Linked DNA regions of Homo sapiens: region 2 is linked to region 1. The links are contacts of gene promoters, found by promoter capture Hi-C in human tissues and cell types (Jung and others, 2019). All regions are on one chromosome and are shown on one strand. Each heading gives the region's core, a stretch centred on a gene start or on the middle of the fragment in contact. The rest is flanking DNA. Distances are from core to core; before and after follow the strand shown. Region 1 holds the start of BOLA3 (bolA family member 3). Region 2 overlaps TET3 (tet methylcytosine dioxygenase 3).

Region 1 (6,591 bases), core at 81-2,580:
AGCAAGGGAATGGTTCACCATTACTACCCTGCTTGAGAAAAAATTTTTTTGACAGTTTAAATTGCATCATTGACAGCAATGAAGAAAACTTAGCAAATCATCTCTAAACATTTTAAAAGAATGAAGCAGAAAATGTAAGACAGGCTAGTAATTGATCCAAAGGAGAAATTCTGAAGGCCAGAACATAGGAGTCAGTTAATACTGTAATAAATAAATTAGACAATATCCATATATAACAACTATAGGTCCAATCCATCCAAGTGCAACGCTGAAGGGACGTATTGATTGCATAGGCCAGAATGTTGGCAAAAAGCTGGTAAATCCTGCAGGGTGCCACCAGACCGCGTGCTGCAAACAAATAACAGCTAGAGAGAGGAGAGGCTTGGTTGAATTTCGGCCTTGACTGGTCTGAAGACTCCAGAGGCGGGACGAATTTGCGGACAGTTCTACCCCATCCCACATGGCGTCAGCTTCCCTTCCATTCTCATGACTCCATGGTCCATGGCTCCAACCTGGGCCTCTGTTAGGCTGTGTCCTGTGGCACCTTAAACTCAGGCAAATTAAGAACTGTTCGTGGACTCTGCTCAGCCCCCACCTAACCCTCCATCCAAGTCATTGTCCAAGCCAGAAACTGGAGTCATCTCAGATACCTTCCCACTCACACCTCCACATGCAGTCGCTCGATTCCATTCACCTCCCAAGTGTCTCAGTTCATTCTTCCATCCCTCCCGCCACTGGTTTAGTTAGGCCCCTCCATTCTCACCTGGACCATCGCGGTAGCCTCGGAGCTTCTGACTGTGTCTCTGGTTGCAGCCCCTACACGCTCTCTTCCTTACAGGAGCGGAGCGATCTTTCTCAAGCGCGAATCAAATCCTTCCACGAGTCCCCGCACCTGGAGCGAAGGCCAAACTCCTCAGCTTAGAAGCTAGACTGCCAGAGTAGGGAGTGGGAATGGAAAAGTACATCAGGAGCACGAGGGGTATTCGGATGAGGGAAGGCCAGTATAGGGCGCCGAGACCTTGGAGTGTTTCTGAGCTGAGGAGGAATGAGACTTTCACGCGGGCAAGGGGACCCTATCCATGAAACAGGCCCTGGGGAGACTGAAGGAGAGCGGCGCGAGCGAAGGCAGAGGGCGGGGCCCCGAGGTCGGCAGGCGCTGCAGTGTCGGGGGTGGCGAGTCAGCCAGGGCCAGGGGATGGCGGGGTGGGGCCGGAGCCAGGCGACCGGAGGCCTCCGGGGCGGGGCCGGGAGGCTGACGGCCTCCGGGCGGCAGGGGGCGGCCTCTCCCACGGCGGCGGCTCTCGGTCCCCCGCTCCGCGTCTTTCGGGCATACAGTGACCTCGGGCGGCGGGTCACGTCGGCCGGGCATGGCTGCATGGAGCCCGGCCGCGGCAGCGCCTCTCCTCCGCGGGATCCGCGGGGTGAGCGTGGGCAGGGTCGGGGCTGCTCTCCCCGGGACGGGAGCTGCGGAGGGACCGCGGGGCCGGCGGCTGTCGGGGCTTGAGGACTGGCTCCCGGAGGGCGCGCGCGGCACTGGCAATGGGGGGCTCCTCTTCCTTTCTCTCATTCATTCTTTCATTCATTCATTCACTCAGCGACAACGGCATTCGAAATTTCAAGCTCTGGCGCGCTCTAGGGGAGCTCCCGAGCTGGGTGGAGGTTGGAGGTCAGGCGGACAGACACATGAACAGTCATAATACTGCGGGCACAGGAAAAAAAAAGGATTGGTTTACCGAGCAGAAGACAGGAGTCATAGCCCAGAGTCAAGGCGTGGGTGCGAGGGACTGCAGCGGGGCCGGGGCCTTGGGAAGGTCGACTGGGCCTCTGACCTTGATCCTCCTCCAAATCCCACACTACCGGAGCAGAACCCAAGCAGGGGGCACTTCCCACGCGCTCTCCTAATCTCTCCCCCTTTCTGAACCATCCTTTGCTTCAGCTCATACCATTCTTTCTCTTAACTTTCATTTTCCTTCTCCCCTGGTTCTGAACCTGCCTGCCCTGTGCATGAAGAGAAGTTCTTCCACTGCGGTGACTTTCAGCGTGGACAGTGATCATCTGGGGATGTCAGTTGATTGTTCCACTAAAGGCCGCTGCCCACAGATCCGCTAAGATGAAAGGCTTCTCCCAAGGATTCTGCAACGCTCACCTCTCTCACCCCTTAGTAGCTGCCGATTCTGTCTGCCATCTGGTTACTCTCTGCCTTTACCCTCAAGATTCTGCCCCCAGAAGCAGCTCCACCCCACCCTCACTCCTGGCAATCCTGTCCAGCCTCTCAACATCGAGTTTCTGTCCCTCCACACAGCAGGCAGACAATCACACTCTGGACCTTTCTCCTGTCTTGCATTTCTGTCCCTAATTGACTAGTTCTTCCCCTGCTCATTCATTCATCCAGCACCAAGTGCCTCTGAGGGCCTGCCCTGGGGTCAGCTCTGGGATGCTGCCGGACTCATTCCTGGCCTATAAGACCAGTGGTGAGAGAGCCAGTGCACAGCTCATTTTAAAGGAGGTGCTCTGAGATTCTGTGACACAGGACCCTGCTCTGAGCTATCAGGAAGGACTGAGGGGTAGAGGGGTGGGACCTTCAGCACCAGCACCCATGAACGGCCCTAGTGTCCTCCAACCTGTCATCCACGTCTAGTCAGGGACCAGTGCCCGGTGCTTCCATCATTGTAATGCCTCTTACTTGGGCATCTCTCCTGACTCGCTCCAGAAGGCACTGTTTCCTGCAGGTTACTTTGGTCCCATGAGCCTGGGTTCTATCACCTGGAGTCCCATCTCCTGTCCCATACAGTCCACAATCTTTAGCCTGGCATTCAAGGCCTGCCACACTCCATTCCCAGTCTGCCTTTTCAGCATGCACTCAGCCCAGCCAAGTGACTGCCGACCTGCTTTTCTGCTCCTTCACTACTAACTGTTGAGACGTGTTCCATCAGAAACATGGGCTCCCCTGGCCGGGCGTGGTGGCTCATGCCTGTAATCCTAGAATTTTGGGAGGTTGAGGTGGGTGGATCACCTGAGGTCAGGGGTTTGAGACCAGCCTGGCCAACATGGTGAAACCTCATCTCTACTAAAAATACAAAAATTTGCCGAGCGTGGTGGTGGGTGCCTGGAATCCCAGCTACTCAGGAGGCTGGGGCAGGAGAATCGCTTGAACCCGGGAGGTGGAAGTTGCAGTGAGCTGAGATTGTGCCACTGCACTCCAGCCTGGGTAACAGAGCAAAACTCTGTCTCAAAAAAAAAAAAAAAGGAAACACAAACACAGGTTCCCCCATGGTAGCCATTGGGGAAGGGGTGTTGTTGCCAATGGTAAACAACCTACAGATACTCCTTCTTCAGGTTCTTTCATAGAATTCTGACTTTGCTCCCAGTGAGAAGGAGTGCATGATGAAGGATAGCTGGCTAATTGAGCAGTGGGCTGTGAGGTCACATCCCACTGGGGAGGGCGAGACATGTTAATCAGGCCTAAAGGCGAGGGAGTGTGGAATTTGGCCCCACCATCCAGGGCAGTGGATGGCCTAGTGGTATGGATCTGAGGCAGGCTATCCAGCTTTTCTGGCTCTGTATCTTACCGAATTCAACCTTGGGCACATTACTGTGTGCCTCAGTTTCCTTACCTATAAAACTATCGGCATAATAGTGTCACAACATTATATGGAAGCAAACATCTCTTGAATTAGGTTTGGGGCCTCTTGTCTCTGGAGTCAAATTGAGTTATTAACAATCATCCTGTCCCCGCCAATAAAAGTTTATTCTGTGTTTTGGGGCACTTACATGGACTCCTGATACCACAGAGCCCCTCTGACATAACCCATGGCTGTGCTGGCGAGGGCTCAGGGGCCTGCCTTGCAGGGGGAATGGCAGGCGGGCCTGCACAGTGGCCCAGCTCAGGGGCAACAGCATCTTCCTCTGCCCTGACCTTCCTCTCTGTTCTGTGGCAGCTTCCACTTCACCATCGGATGTTTGCCACTCAGACTGAGGGGGAGCTCAGAGTGACCCAAATTCTCAAAGAAAAGTTTCCACGAGCTACAGCTATAAAAGTCACTGACATTTCAGGTAAGGTTTCTCTCACTCTTCCTACGGCGCTTGGATAAGATTTTGCCCTTTGGAAGGACAGAGGGTCAGGGGCTTGGAGGAGGGGGCTTGCTGCTGGTGAGTGGCTTCTCAAGATGTGTTGCTGCTGGACAGGTGGAGCTCGGCTGCCCCCACCTCATGGGATGGCAGTCAGGATTCAGAAATATCAGAGGGAAACTGAGGACAAGGCGCAGCTGGGAGGACTCAAGGTTGCCAGCCTGGCTCAGCTCAGACAAGGTCCCTCTCAGTCACCCTAGAGCTGAGGTCCACAGTCTGTCATTTGACTTTGAATAGGTTTTGCTCTAATTTTCCCCCATTCTTCTGACACCCTAGGATATCAGAGCTGGAGTGGACCCCAGAAAGATTTTCTTCAGCTGCTTTACTTTCCCTAAGAGGAAATGAGCCCAGAGAGGCCAAAGGAATTGCCTAGCTCCTCATAGGGAAGAGACAGTGGAACTGGAACCAGAACCGGGACTCAGGGGAGACTCTGTCCTAAGCCCAGTTACCAGCCCCAGCCAAGCGCTGTCCTTCTCAGGTGGCCACTGGCACCTAGAAGTTCAGGCTGGCAGTGTGTTAGGAGCAGGCTGGAGAAGCAACTTCTGCATCCACAGGATGGGGAAGATAGGCCCTTTATCCACACACACACACACACGTACACACAGAACGGCCCGTGGCGTGGGCCGCTGGATAGGCATCAGTCTGAATCTCTCCATACCCAGAGGCAGCCTTTGCCACTCAGCATTGCCATGAGGGCTCACTGACTTTACTGAGAACATAACATTTCCAAGGATTGAGGAGAAAGTTTAGAAAGTAGATTTTATTCTGGAAACCACAGGAAATAAATCAATCTAAAGATCTGCTGGGGTTTTGGAGCAGTGGCTCATGCCTGTAATCCCAGCACTTTGAGAGGCTGAGGCAGGTGGATCACGAGGTCAGGAGTTCAAGACCAGCCTGGCCAACATGGTGAAACCCCCCCGTCTCTACTAAAAATACAAAAATTAACTGGGCGTGGTGGCACACGCCTGTAGTCCCAGCTACTCAAGAGTCTGAGGCAGGAGACTTGCTTGAACCCGGGAGGCGGAGGCTGCAGTGAGCCAAGATCATGCCACTGCACTCCAGCCTGGGTGACAGAGCGAGACTGTGTCTCAAAAAAAAAAAAAAAAAATCTGCTGGGGCCAGGCGCGGTGGCTCATGTCTGTAATCCCAGCACTTTGGGAGGCTGAGGCAGGTGGATCACCTGAGGTCAGGAGTTCGAGACCAGCCTGGCCAACATGGTGAAACCCCATCTCAACCAGAAATACAAAAAAAAAAAAAAAATTAGCCAGGCATGGTAGCAGGCACCTGTAATCCCAGCTACTCAGGAGGCTGAGGCAGGAGAATCGCTTGAACCTGGGAGGCAGAGGTTGCAGTGAGCTGAGATTGCACCACTGCACTCCAGCCTGGGCGACAAGAGCGAAACTCTGTCTCAAAAAGAAAAAAAAAATCTGCTGGAATGGTACATCAGGTGAGGGCTCTGCAGGAGTCTTGGGGCAATGCTGAGGCCTTGATGTTACCAGGTCCTGAACTTGCCCCAGGCCCAGGGCAGAGTTAGAGCTTGACTCAGCTGTGGCTCTGCGCAGTCCTGGACAGAGTGCAGAAGGGGAGTTGAGGCTGAGAACCTGGGTTTAACCAAAACTTGGACTCCTAGAGCACATTATAAGAAAAACAGAACAGGCCAGGCGCGGTGGCTCACGCCTGTAATCCCAGCACTTTGGGAGGCCGAGGCGGGTGGATCACGAGGTCAGGAGATCGAGACCATCCTGGCTAACACGGTGAAACCCCGTCTCTACTAAAAATACAAAAAAAAAATTAGCTGGGCATGATGGTGTGTGCCTATAGTCCCAGCTACTCAGGAGGCTGAGGCAGGAGAATGGTGTGAACCTGGGAGGCGGAGCTTGCAGTGAGCCCAGATCGTGCCACTGCACTCCAGCCTGGGCGACAGAGCGAGACTCCATCTCAAAAAAAAAAAGAAGCAGAGCAAAGCCTGTTGAGTACGTTGCACCTCTCACACAATGGCCTGGCTCTGTAAATCATGCAGGGGACATATTCTTGCCCATGTTATTTCATGCTAGAGCTGTGTGTTTATCATCAGTCATCAGCACCAGCTCTCCAGCCAGGTGGAGGAAAGCTCAGGCAGGGGGTGGATGGCCCACCAAGCTCTGCCTCGAGGGCTTCACCAAAAAGTTCTCCCCCCAAAAGCCAGGATGAAATCCTGGATGCTGTGCTGTGGACCCAGCAGTGCCAGAGACAGCCCCGAGCAGCTCCATGCATAGCATGTTTGCTGTGTCCCTGGCTCTCATGCTCCCCTGGTTCTTTCCTTTCTTTGGACAGTATTACACAGTTTTCAAACCAAATTGTAGTGTATTTTTGCACTTCAAAAACACTGATTGTTGGTCCTTTGGAAGCTGGAACGCTGAAATTCCGTCCTTCTCATCCTCTTCCGTGGCGTTTATTGGCCTAGTGAAAGGAAACACTCTACAC
Region 2 (7,246 bases), core at 2,905-5,404, 59 kb after region 1:
CAGTGGATACCAGACCAGAGGAGGTGGATGGGTTACCAGGGGAAGGGAGAAGACCAGGATAGAAGAGGGACGGTGTGGGATGCAGGTAGCCTGGTGTAAAAAAGGGGTTTTTATCAAAGAACCACATCATATCGCTTTACTTCTGGACTAGGCTCTTCCCATAAGAGAGTAAAAGAGCCCACTCTCCCACTTCCCACCTTCAGAGCCTGAGCAGAGATGTGGACGGTGACATGTGGGCAGCAAAAGGCCCAGGGCCCGTTACCTGGTTCTGATAGGCCTGAGGGGCCAGTCGCTTGTACAGGGGAGCGACTTCGGTGGCCAGGTCCTGGAAACTCTTCCGGAGCACTTCTTCCTGCAGAGAGAGGGGCAGTCACACATCCAGAGCAGCCCCGCCTGGCAGACCCTGCACCCTGGAAGTGGACTGGCATTCCTGAAGCATCGTGGGGGAGGCTGGGAGGGAGGTGTTATCAGGTGTCTTTCTGGCCTTTCCTTCAGGAGGGCTGTGGTGCTGTGTCCACTTCACAGCTGGGGACACTGAGGCTCCCAGGAAAAGCTGTGGAAGCCACGGCCTGAAGGTCTAGTCATCCTGACTGCTAAACTACTGCTCCTTCAGGCTCCCGCCCAGTTCAGCCCAGAACATATCAAACGTTTCTTGCTTTCGAGTGCTGAACACCGTAGGTCAGAGGTGCGGCACAGTGGGACTGAAAAAGCCAAGAGCAACAACTGTGGATCTTTCCTCCCAGGCTACAGACAGGAAGAGAAAGGCAGGCAGGATCCATGCTAGAAATTCCACAGCCAGCCCAGCCCAGCCCAGCCCAGCCCAGAGCCTGTCATAAGCCAGGAATACAGACAGACTTCAAAGCTCCAGCTGCTAGACTCGTACTACGTAATGTTATTCACAAACCACATGAAGCTACAGAAATACAGATGAATTCTAATTTTTTTTTTTCTTTGAGACAGAGGCTCACTCTGTCACCCAGGCTGGGGTGCAGTGGCATTATCTTGGCTCACTGCAACCTCCATCTCCTGGGTTCAAGCAATTCTCCTGCCTCAGCCTCCTGAGTAGCTGGGATTAGAGGTGCCCACAGCCGGCTAATTTCTTTTATATTTTTAGTAGAGATGGGGTTTTGCCGTGTTGGCCAGGCTGGTCTCAAACTCCTGACCTCAGGTGATCCAACCACCTTGGCCTCCCAAAGTGCTAGGATTACAGGCGTGAGCCACAATGCCCGGCCTGAATTCTAATAAAAATTAAAGCAATTCAGTCCCTTGGTTGCACTAGTCCCATTTTAAATACTCAGCAGCTACACGTGGCTCCTGTATGGACAGCAGAGAATGTTTCCACACATCACAGAAAGTACTGTGGGACAGCACTGCTCTATGTGAAGCAGCAGCCCCTGGTGACATGTGGCAGAGAGTTCCAGGTATCCACAGCCTCTGTCTGGCCCTCCGAAAACAAGCAGGGCTTGAAGGGCTCCTAGGACACCACGAGCACAGGCACAAAGGGTTTATGAAGAAGAAAGCAGGAAGAGAGGAAAGAGAAAAAGAACCAAGCACACAGAATGAGAAATGGAAGGTGGAGACCCACAGCTCAGCTGTACATCCAGTGGGGTCGCCAGGGCTGCCAGCCACTCTTGACCAGGCCAGCCTGGGCCAGTGATGCCAGGCCACCTCCCTGCCTGATGTCCAGATGCTGCCACCAGCACAGCAGGGGGTGAGGCTTGTGAGCTCTAGGGACACACAGGCCTGAGTTTCAAACCTGCCTTCACCATGAACTAGCCACATGGGCTTAAGGAAGCCATCTGCCTCATCTGTAAAGTGAGGGGTAACAGTGCCTAGATCACTGGGATGGAGGGGTCGTGAAATCATCTGAGAAACCTATGAGGGGCTTGGCAAAGTGCTTAGCACATCGTAAGAGCACAGGAAGTGGCAGTTGGTAGAACAGGGAAAGAATTTGAGAGAAATTAAGCCAATGTCTTTCCATTCCTAGTAGTTCTTAGGTCCTGGTAGCCCCAGGGCTCCATTCATTGAAGCAACCACATCTGCTGCTTGTAAGGGAGGGTGAATCTTACCGTAAATAAAAATCTAATAACAAATTAGACTATTTGCATACAGGTCTATTAGACTATTTAAGTCTAAAAGCCAGGTCTGGGGTAAACAAAGAGTTCTGAATTTGAAAATGCTTCCTTTTTCTTATGAGGACCCAAGCTTGGCAGTCAGAGCACAGAAGGTGACATAGGCTTTGGTGTAGAGAGGGTGTCCCTGCACCACGGGAAGTGGGAAGCCCTTCTGGTACTAGGAGCTTGGAGAGATTTGGAAGGTTGCAACTTGAGTTCACGTATTTGGATATTTGTCTGTATCCTAGCAAAGGAAGCCAGCACTCCACCCGCTCAGGAGCCCAGGCAGAAGGAAGGTAAAATGGCAGACAACCTGGATAGGCTTGTGCCTTCCTTGCATTTGGAGCTGAGTGGAGACCGCCTCTCAGGAGGGCCTTTGCCATGCAGGCATCAGAGGACAAACAACAGAGGGGAGGCGGCCTGAGCAGATGCTCCGGCCCCCACAGCCTGAGGGCGCCTTCCCCTGCTGTCTTGGGGCTGGGGGAGGCCCTGCAGGGCAGGGGTCTGGGTAAGGAGCCTACAGAGAGAAGGTGCCGTGCCTAGCGGTCATACTGTATGGACACCAGTCCAGAGCCCAGGGACCAGGCCAGGCCCCCAGCATGGAGACTGCAAGGGCCCGGATGACTGCCCAGAGACATCTGTCCGGCAGCCAGGCAGGGTGGGAGATACCTTGGGAAGTACAGCAAAGGCCCAGAGGATGGCCCACATGCGGGAGACCGCCTTTCCTGCTAAACCTCACACCTAGAAAGGTGTCCTGGGAAGATGGGGGGGAGAAATGACCTCTGAGAGGGCCAAATTCTGACAAGCGATTTGAATATGTATCTTCGATATTTGGAGTATTTACCTAAAAGAGATGGTTTACATGGGAAGAGCCTGGGGCACCCGTAACTGCTAAGTCTAATTTTTCACACTTGGTGCCCTCCACACACCCCTTATTTCACAGCAAGATAAGGTCAGCTTTTAAAAAAACGAAAACAAGTTCCACTTCCTGTGCATCTGAGTCATGGCGTGCCAGTACTACCTCCCGCTGGACCATGAAGGACGCCAGGCGAGAAAGGATGGGAGGCAGGGTCCCCGCCCAGCTCTGCTCACCTCTTTGGGATTGTCCCCTGCGAGGCGGAACTTGCGAGGTGTCTTGCTCCGAGCATACTTGCAGCCGTTGAAGTACATGCTCCAGGAACAACCAAAGGAGAAGGAGGCACCACAGGTGTTGGGGTCTTTGCCTTGGCAAGCGCAGGTCCGGCTGCAACACACAGCACAGGTCAGGGATATAGATGCAATATCCCTTCGTTCTGGAGTATTCCTCCTCCCTCAAGGGGTGGCCCTGCTGAGCCCTGGCACCCACCAGCCTCCCAGTGACTGAGACTCATCCTTCCCCACCCCCAACCCCTTTCTCAAGTTTCCTTGAGTAGGAAGCCAGATCTAAGCAGCCTCTGCTGCCTGCACCACTGCGAGCCTGCAGGTCTAACACTGAGTCTGTTGCTGGGAGTAGCACATGGGTTTACGGAAGTAAGGGGGAAGAATCTGGTAAAAACCCATTAACGTTTATACTTTCCCTTAACTTAATATCTTAACCAGCTCCAGGACAGGCCATATGAACAGGGAAATGATGTGAGCCCCAGGGTTTGAACGTGTCTATTTCCTATAGCCCAGATGCTAACAGGCCTTTCAACAAAGTATACTGAGATGAAAATTAACGCTTAATACAATCTGGAAACAACCCAAGTGCCCCTAACTGGGGGATGGATAAGCAAACTATGATAGATCCACACAGTGGATTACGACTCATTGATAAAAAGGAACGAGCTACTGACACACACGTCAACACAGATGAACACTGAAAACACTATGTTCAATGGAAGAAGCCAGACTCAGAAAGCTACACCCTGTATGATCCCATTTATGTGACATTCTCACAGAGGTAAACCTACAGGAACAGGAAACAAGACCGGTGACTGCCCAGGGCTAGGGGAGGGCTTGCTTATAAAGGGCATGCATGGGGCACTTCGGGGGGAAGATGGAACTGTTCTATGTCTTTTTTTTTTTTTTTTTTTTTTTTGAGACGGAATCCTGTTCTGTTGCTCAGGCTGGAGTGCAATGGCACGATCTTGGCTCACTGCAACCTCTGCCTCCTGGGTGAAAGTGATTCTCATGCCTCAGCCTCCTTAGTAGCTGGGATTACAGGCATGTGTCACCACACCTGGCTAATTTTTATATTTTTAGTAAAGACAGGGTTTCGCCATGATGGCCAGGCTCGTCTCGAATTCCTGGCCTCAGGCGATCCACCCGCCTTGGCCTCCCAAAGTGCTGCGACCACAGGCATGAGCCACCATGCCCAGCCCTGTTGCATATCTTAATTGTGGTGGTGGTAGGTACGTGACTGTAAACATTTGTCAAAACTATATACCTAAGAGGATGAATTTTATTGTAAATAAATATACCTTCATTTTTAAAAATGGGAAAAACTCTGATAAGGGCAGGGTTTTTTTGTTTTTGTTTTTGAGACAGAGTCTCACTGTTGCCCAGGCTGGAGTGCAGTGGTGCAATCTCAGCTCACTGCAACTTCCGCCGCCCGAGTTCAAGCGATTCTTCTGTCTCAGCCTCCCGAGTAGCTGGGACTACAGGTGTGTGCCACCACGCCTGACTAATTTTTTTATTTTTAGTAGAGATGGGGTTTCACCGTATTGGCCAGGCTGGTCTCAAACTCCTGACCTTATGATCCACCCACTTCGGCCTCCCAAAGTGCTGGGATTATAGGCATGGACCACGCCTGGCCAAGGGCAGGTTTTGTAAATATCTTCGATACCTTCTATTTATGGGGCACATGTACTTCACACTCGCTAATATCATTAGTGCCAGTGTTATCGACCTGGGGTTTAACGGTGAAGTCAAACTAGTAGACCCTCTGGAGCCAGAGCTAGAACCCAGCTCAAGCAAGATCTGTGGATATGCCTTCCTCAACCACAGTCCTAACTGTGCAGGACAAACAGTGCCGCAGAGAGGGCCCCTAGGAGCCTTCCCCAGGGTTGCCTGCAGTCTCCTGTATTTGCTGCCCAGGACCCTATAGGTGGGCCCTGGCCCTGAAGCCCTCTGCTACATACTCATCGTTGAGGCCGCATCTCCGGCTGGTGGGGTTCCCATACTTCCGGAGGGTGTCGGTGAGCTCCTGGTAGAGGGTGTCTCCGAGGCTACGGGGAATGCCCTCCCAGGCCAGGATGAGGATGACGATCACAGCGTTCTGGCAGTGGTGGCCTGCCCGGTGCCGCACCAGGCAGAGTAGCTTCTCCTCCAGCGTGTGCCTGCGGATCACCTGCAGGGACGCAGGGTGTGAGGGGCAGGAGCCAGGTACCCGTGCTCCTCTGCATGGTGCCACCCCTCCCTTTGTCACACAGACCCAGGGTGCAGGTCTTAACGGCAGGGTTCTAGGGATGTCATGCCCTGAAGACAGCAACCTTACAAGCTAAGAGACCATTATTAGGGAACAAATAGGGAACATTATTAGGAACAAATGTTTTGTTAGGGAACAAAAACATAAAAGTTATTTTGAGAGTGAAATAAAAAATAATTACCACAAAATCTAAGTTGCTGATGACTTACATAGGCTTAGGAGTAAAAATACACAGATAAAAATTGTAAGCCAAAATACAGTCAGATTTTTATGTTATCCTAAAACATTTGCAGAGAAAATGCTGCCTACCTGTGTGTTTTTAGTTAACATGCAAGGGGCTTGGCACTGTGGAAAACAGTCTGGCAATGCCTCCAAAAGCTAAACATAGGATTACCATATGATCCAGCAATTCCATGCCTAGGAATACACTCGAGGGACTGAGAGCAGGACTCAGGCAGATCCCTGAATACCCACGTTCACTGCAGCACTATTCACAACAGCCAAAAGGTGGAAGCACCCCCAGGGTCCATCGGTTGATGAACAGGTAAGTACGACGTGGTATAGACAGACAACCAAGTATTACTCAGCCTTAAAGAGAAACAAAATTCTGATCCATGTTACAACATGGATGAACCCCAAAAACATGCTATGTGAAATAAGCCAGACACAAAAGGACACATAGTACATGATTCCACTGACATGAGACACCCAGAACAGTTCCATTCAGAGAGACAGAAAGTAGATTAGAGCTTACGAGGGCCTGGGAAAGGGGAGAATGGAGAATTATTGTTAATGGGTGCAGAGTTTCAGTACAGGATGTTGAAAAAGTTCTGGAAATAGACTAGGTTGATGCTTGTACAACAACGTGAATGTACTTAATGCCACCAACCTGTACACTGAAAAATGGTTAAAATGTTAGATTTTATTTCTACACAAACTTTTTTTTTTTTTTTTTTTTTTAGAGTCAGGGTCTTACTCTGTTGCCCAGGCTGGAGTACAGTGGCATGATCATAGCTCACTGCAGCTTCAAACTCCTGGGCTTAAGCGATCCTCCCACTTCAGCCTTCTTGAGTACCCGGGACTACAGACACACGCCACCATGCCTGGCTAACTTTTTAAAATTTTTTAAGAGACAGGGTCTCACTATGTTGTCTAGGCTGGTCTTGAACTGCTGGGGCTCACGTGATCCTCCTGCCTCAGCCTTCCAAAGTGCTGGGATTACAGACATGAGCCACTGCACCCAGCCTGTTTATACACTGTTACCACAATTTTAAAAATGTACTACACCAAAAACCATTGAATTATATGCTTCAAATGTGTGAACTGTATGGTACGAGAATTGTATCTCAATAAAGCTACTTTTTTTTTTTTTAAGCGAGAGCCCTGGGCATCCACTGCTCTGCTGCTCAGGATCCAGGTCTGAGGTCTGGGTTCTCATTAATTCCTAAACACTGTCCTGGTTTATAAAAAGATGTCAGGGCCAAGAGGCCTGGGAGCTGGGGAAGGAGGTGGCTGAAAATTGCCAGAGAATGCCAGATAATTCCATGACCAGATAAGATGTGAGGGCCTGTGGGCAGGGGAAGGATGAGGGTAGACTGGGAAGGGCTCCGAGTGTCAGGCCCAGGGGCAGGGCCTTGAGGCGGGAACTCCACGCAGGATGGTGAGCAGGGGGCTTACATAAAGAGTTTCATGCTTTAGAAAGTGGGGGCAGAAAATCGGGAGAAGGGCAAGACGGGGAGACCAG

Evidence for each region. The method cuts DNA at HindIII sites, captures the fragments that hold promoters and counts their contacts. A contact is called where the count stands out against the background at its distance.
Region 2: a fragment that was not itself captured here is called in contact with the fragment with the promoter of BOLA3 in region 1 in 1 of the 25 tissues and cell types used here (adrenal gland).

Annotation. Positions count from the first base shown.
Region 1 is chr2:74,142,651-74,149,241 of GRCh38, reverse strand. BOLA3 (bolA family member 3) reads left to right here and starts at 1,330. Exons shown (of 4, transcript NM_212552.3): 1 at 1,330-1,421; 2 at 3,939-4,053. The coding sequence starts at 1,368. It overlaps BOLA3-DT (BOLA3 divergent transcript), which reads right to left and starts at 1,261. Exons shown (of 3, transcript NR_045636.1): 1 at 1,019-1,261; 2 at 764-892; 3 at 1-544. RefSeq lists an enhancer at 917-1,576 and a silencer at 1,110-1,589. The HindIII fragment of the contact is 14,937 bases long and covers 1-6,591 here.
Region 2 is chr2:74,086,008-74,093,253 of GRCh38, reverse strand. It overlaps TET3 (tet methylcytosine dioxygenase 3), which reads right to left. Exons shown (of 12, transcript NM_001287491.2): 7 at 5,216-5,424; 8 at 3,207-3,357; 9 at 263-352. Among named protein-coding and RNA genes, the nearest start is that of BOLA3, 58 kb to the left of the region's middle. RefSeq lists an enhancer at 7,041-7,246. The HindIII fragment of the contact is 8,521 bases long and covers 1-7,246 here.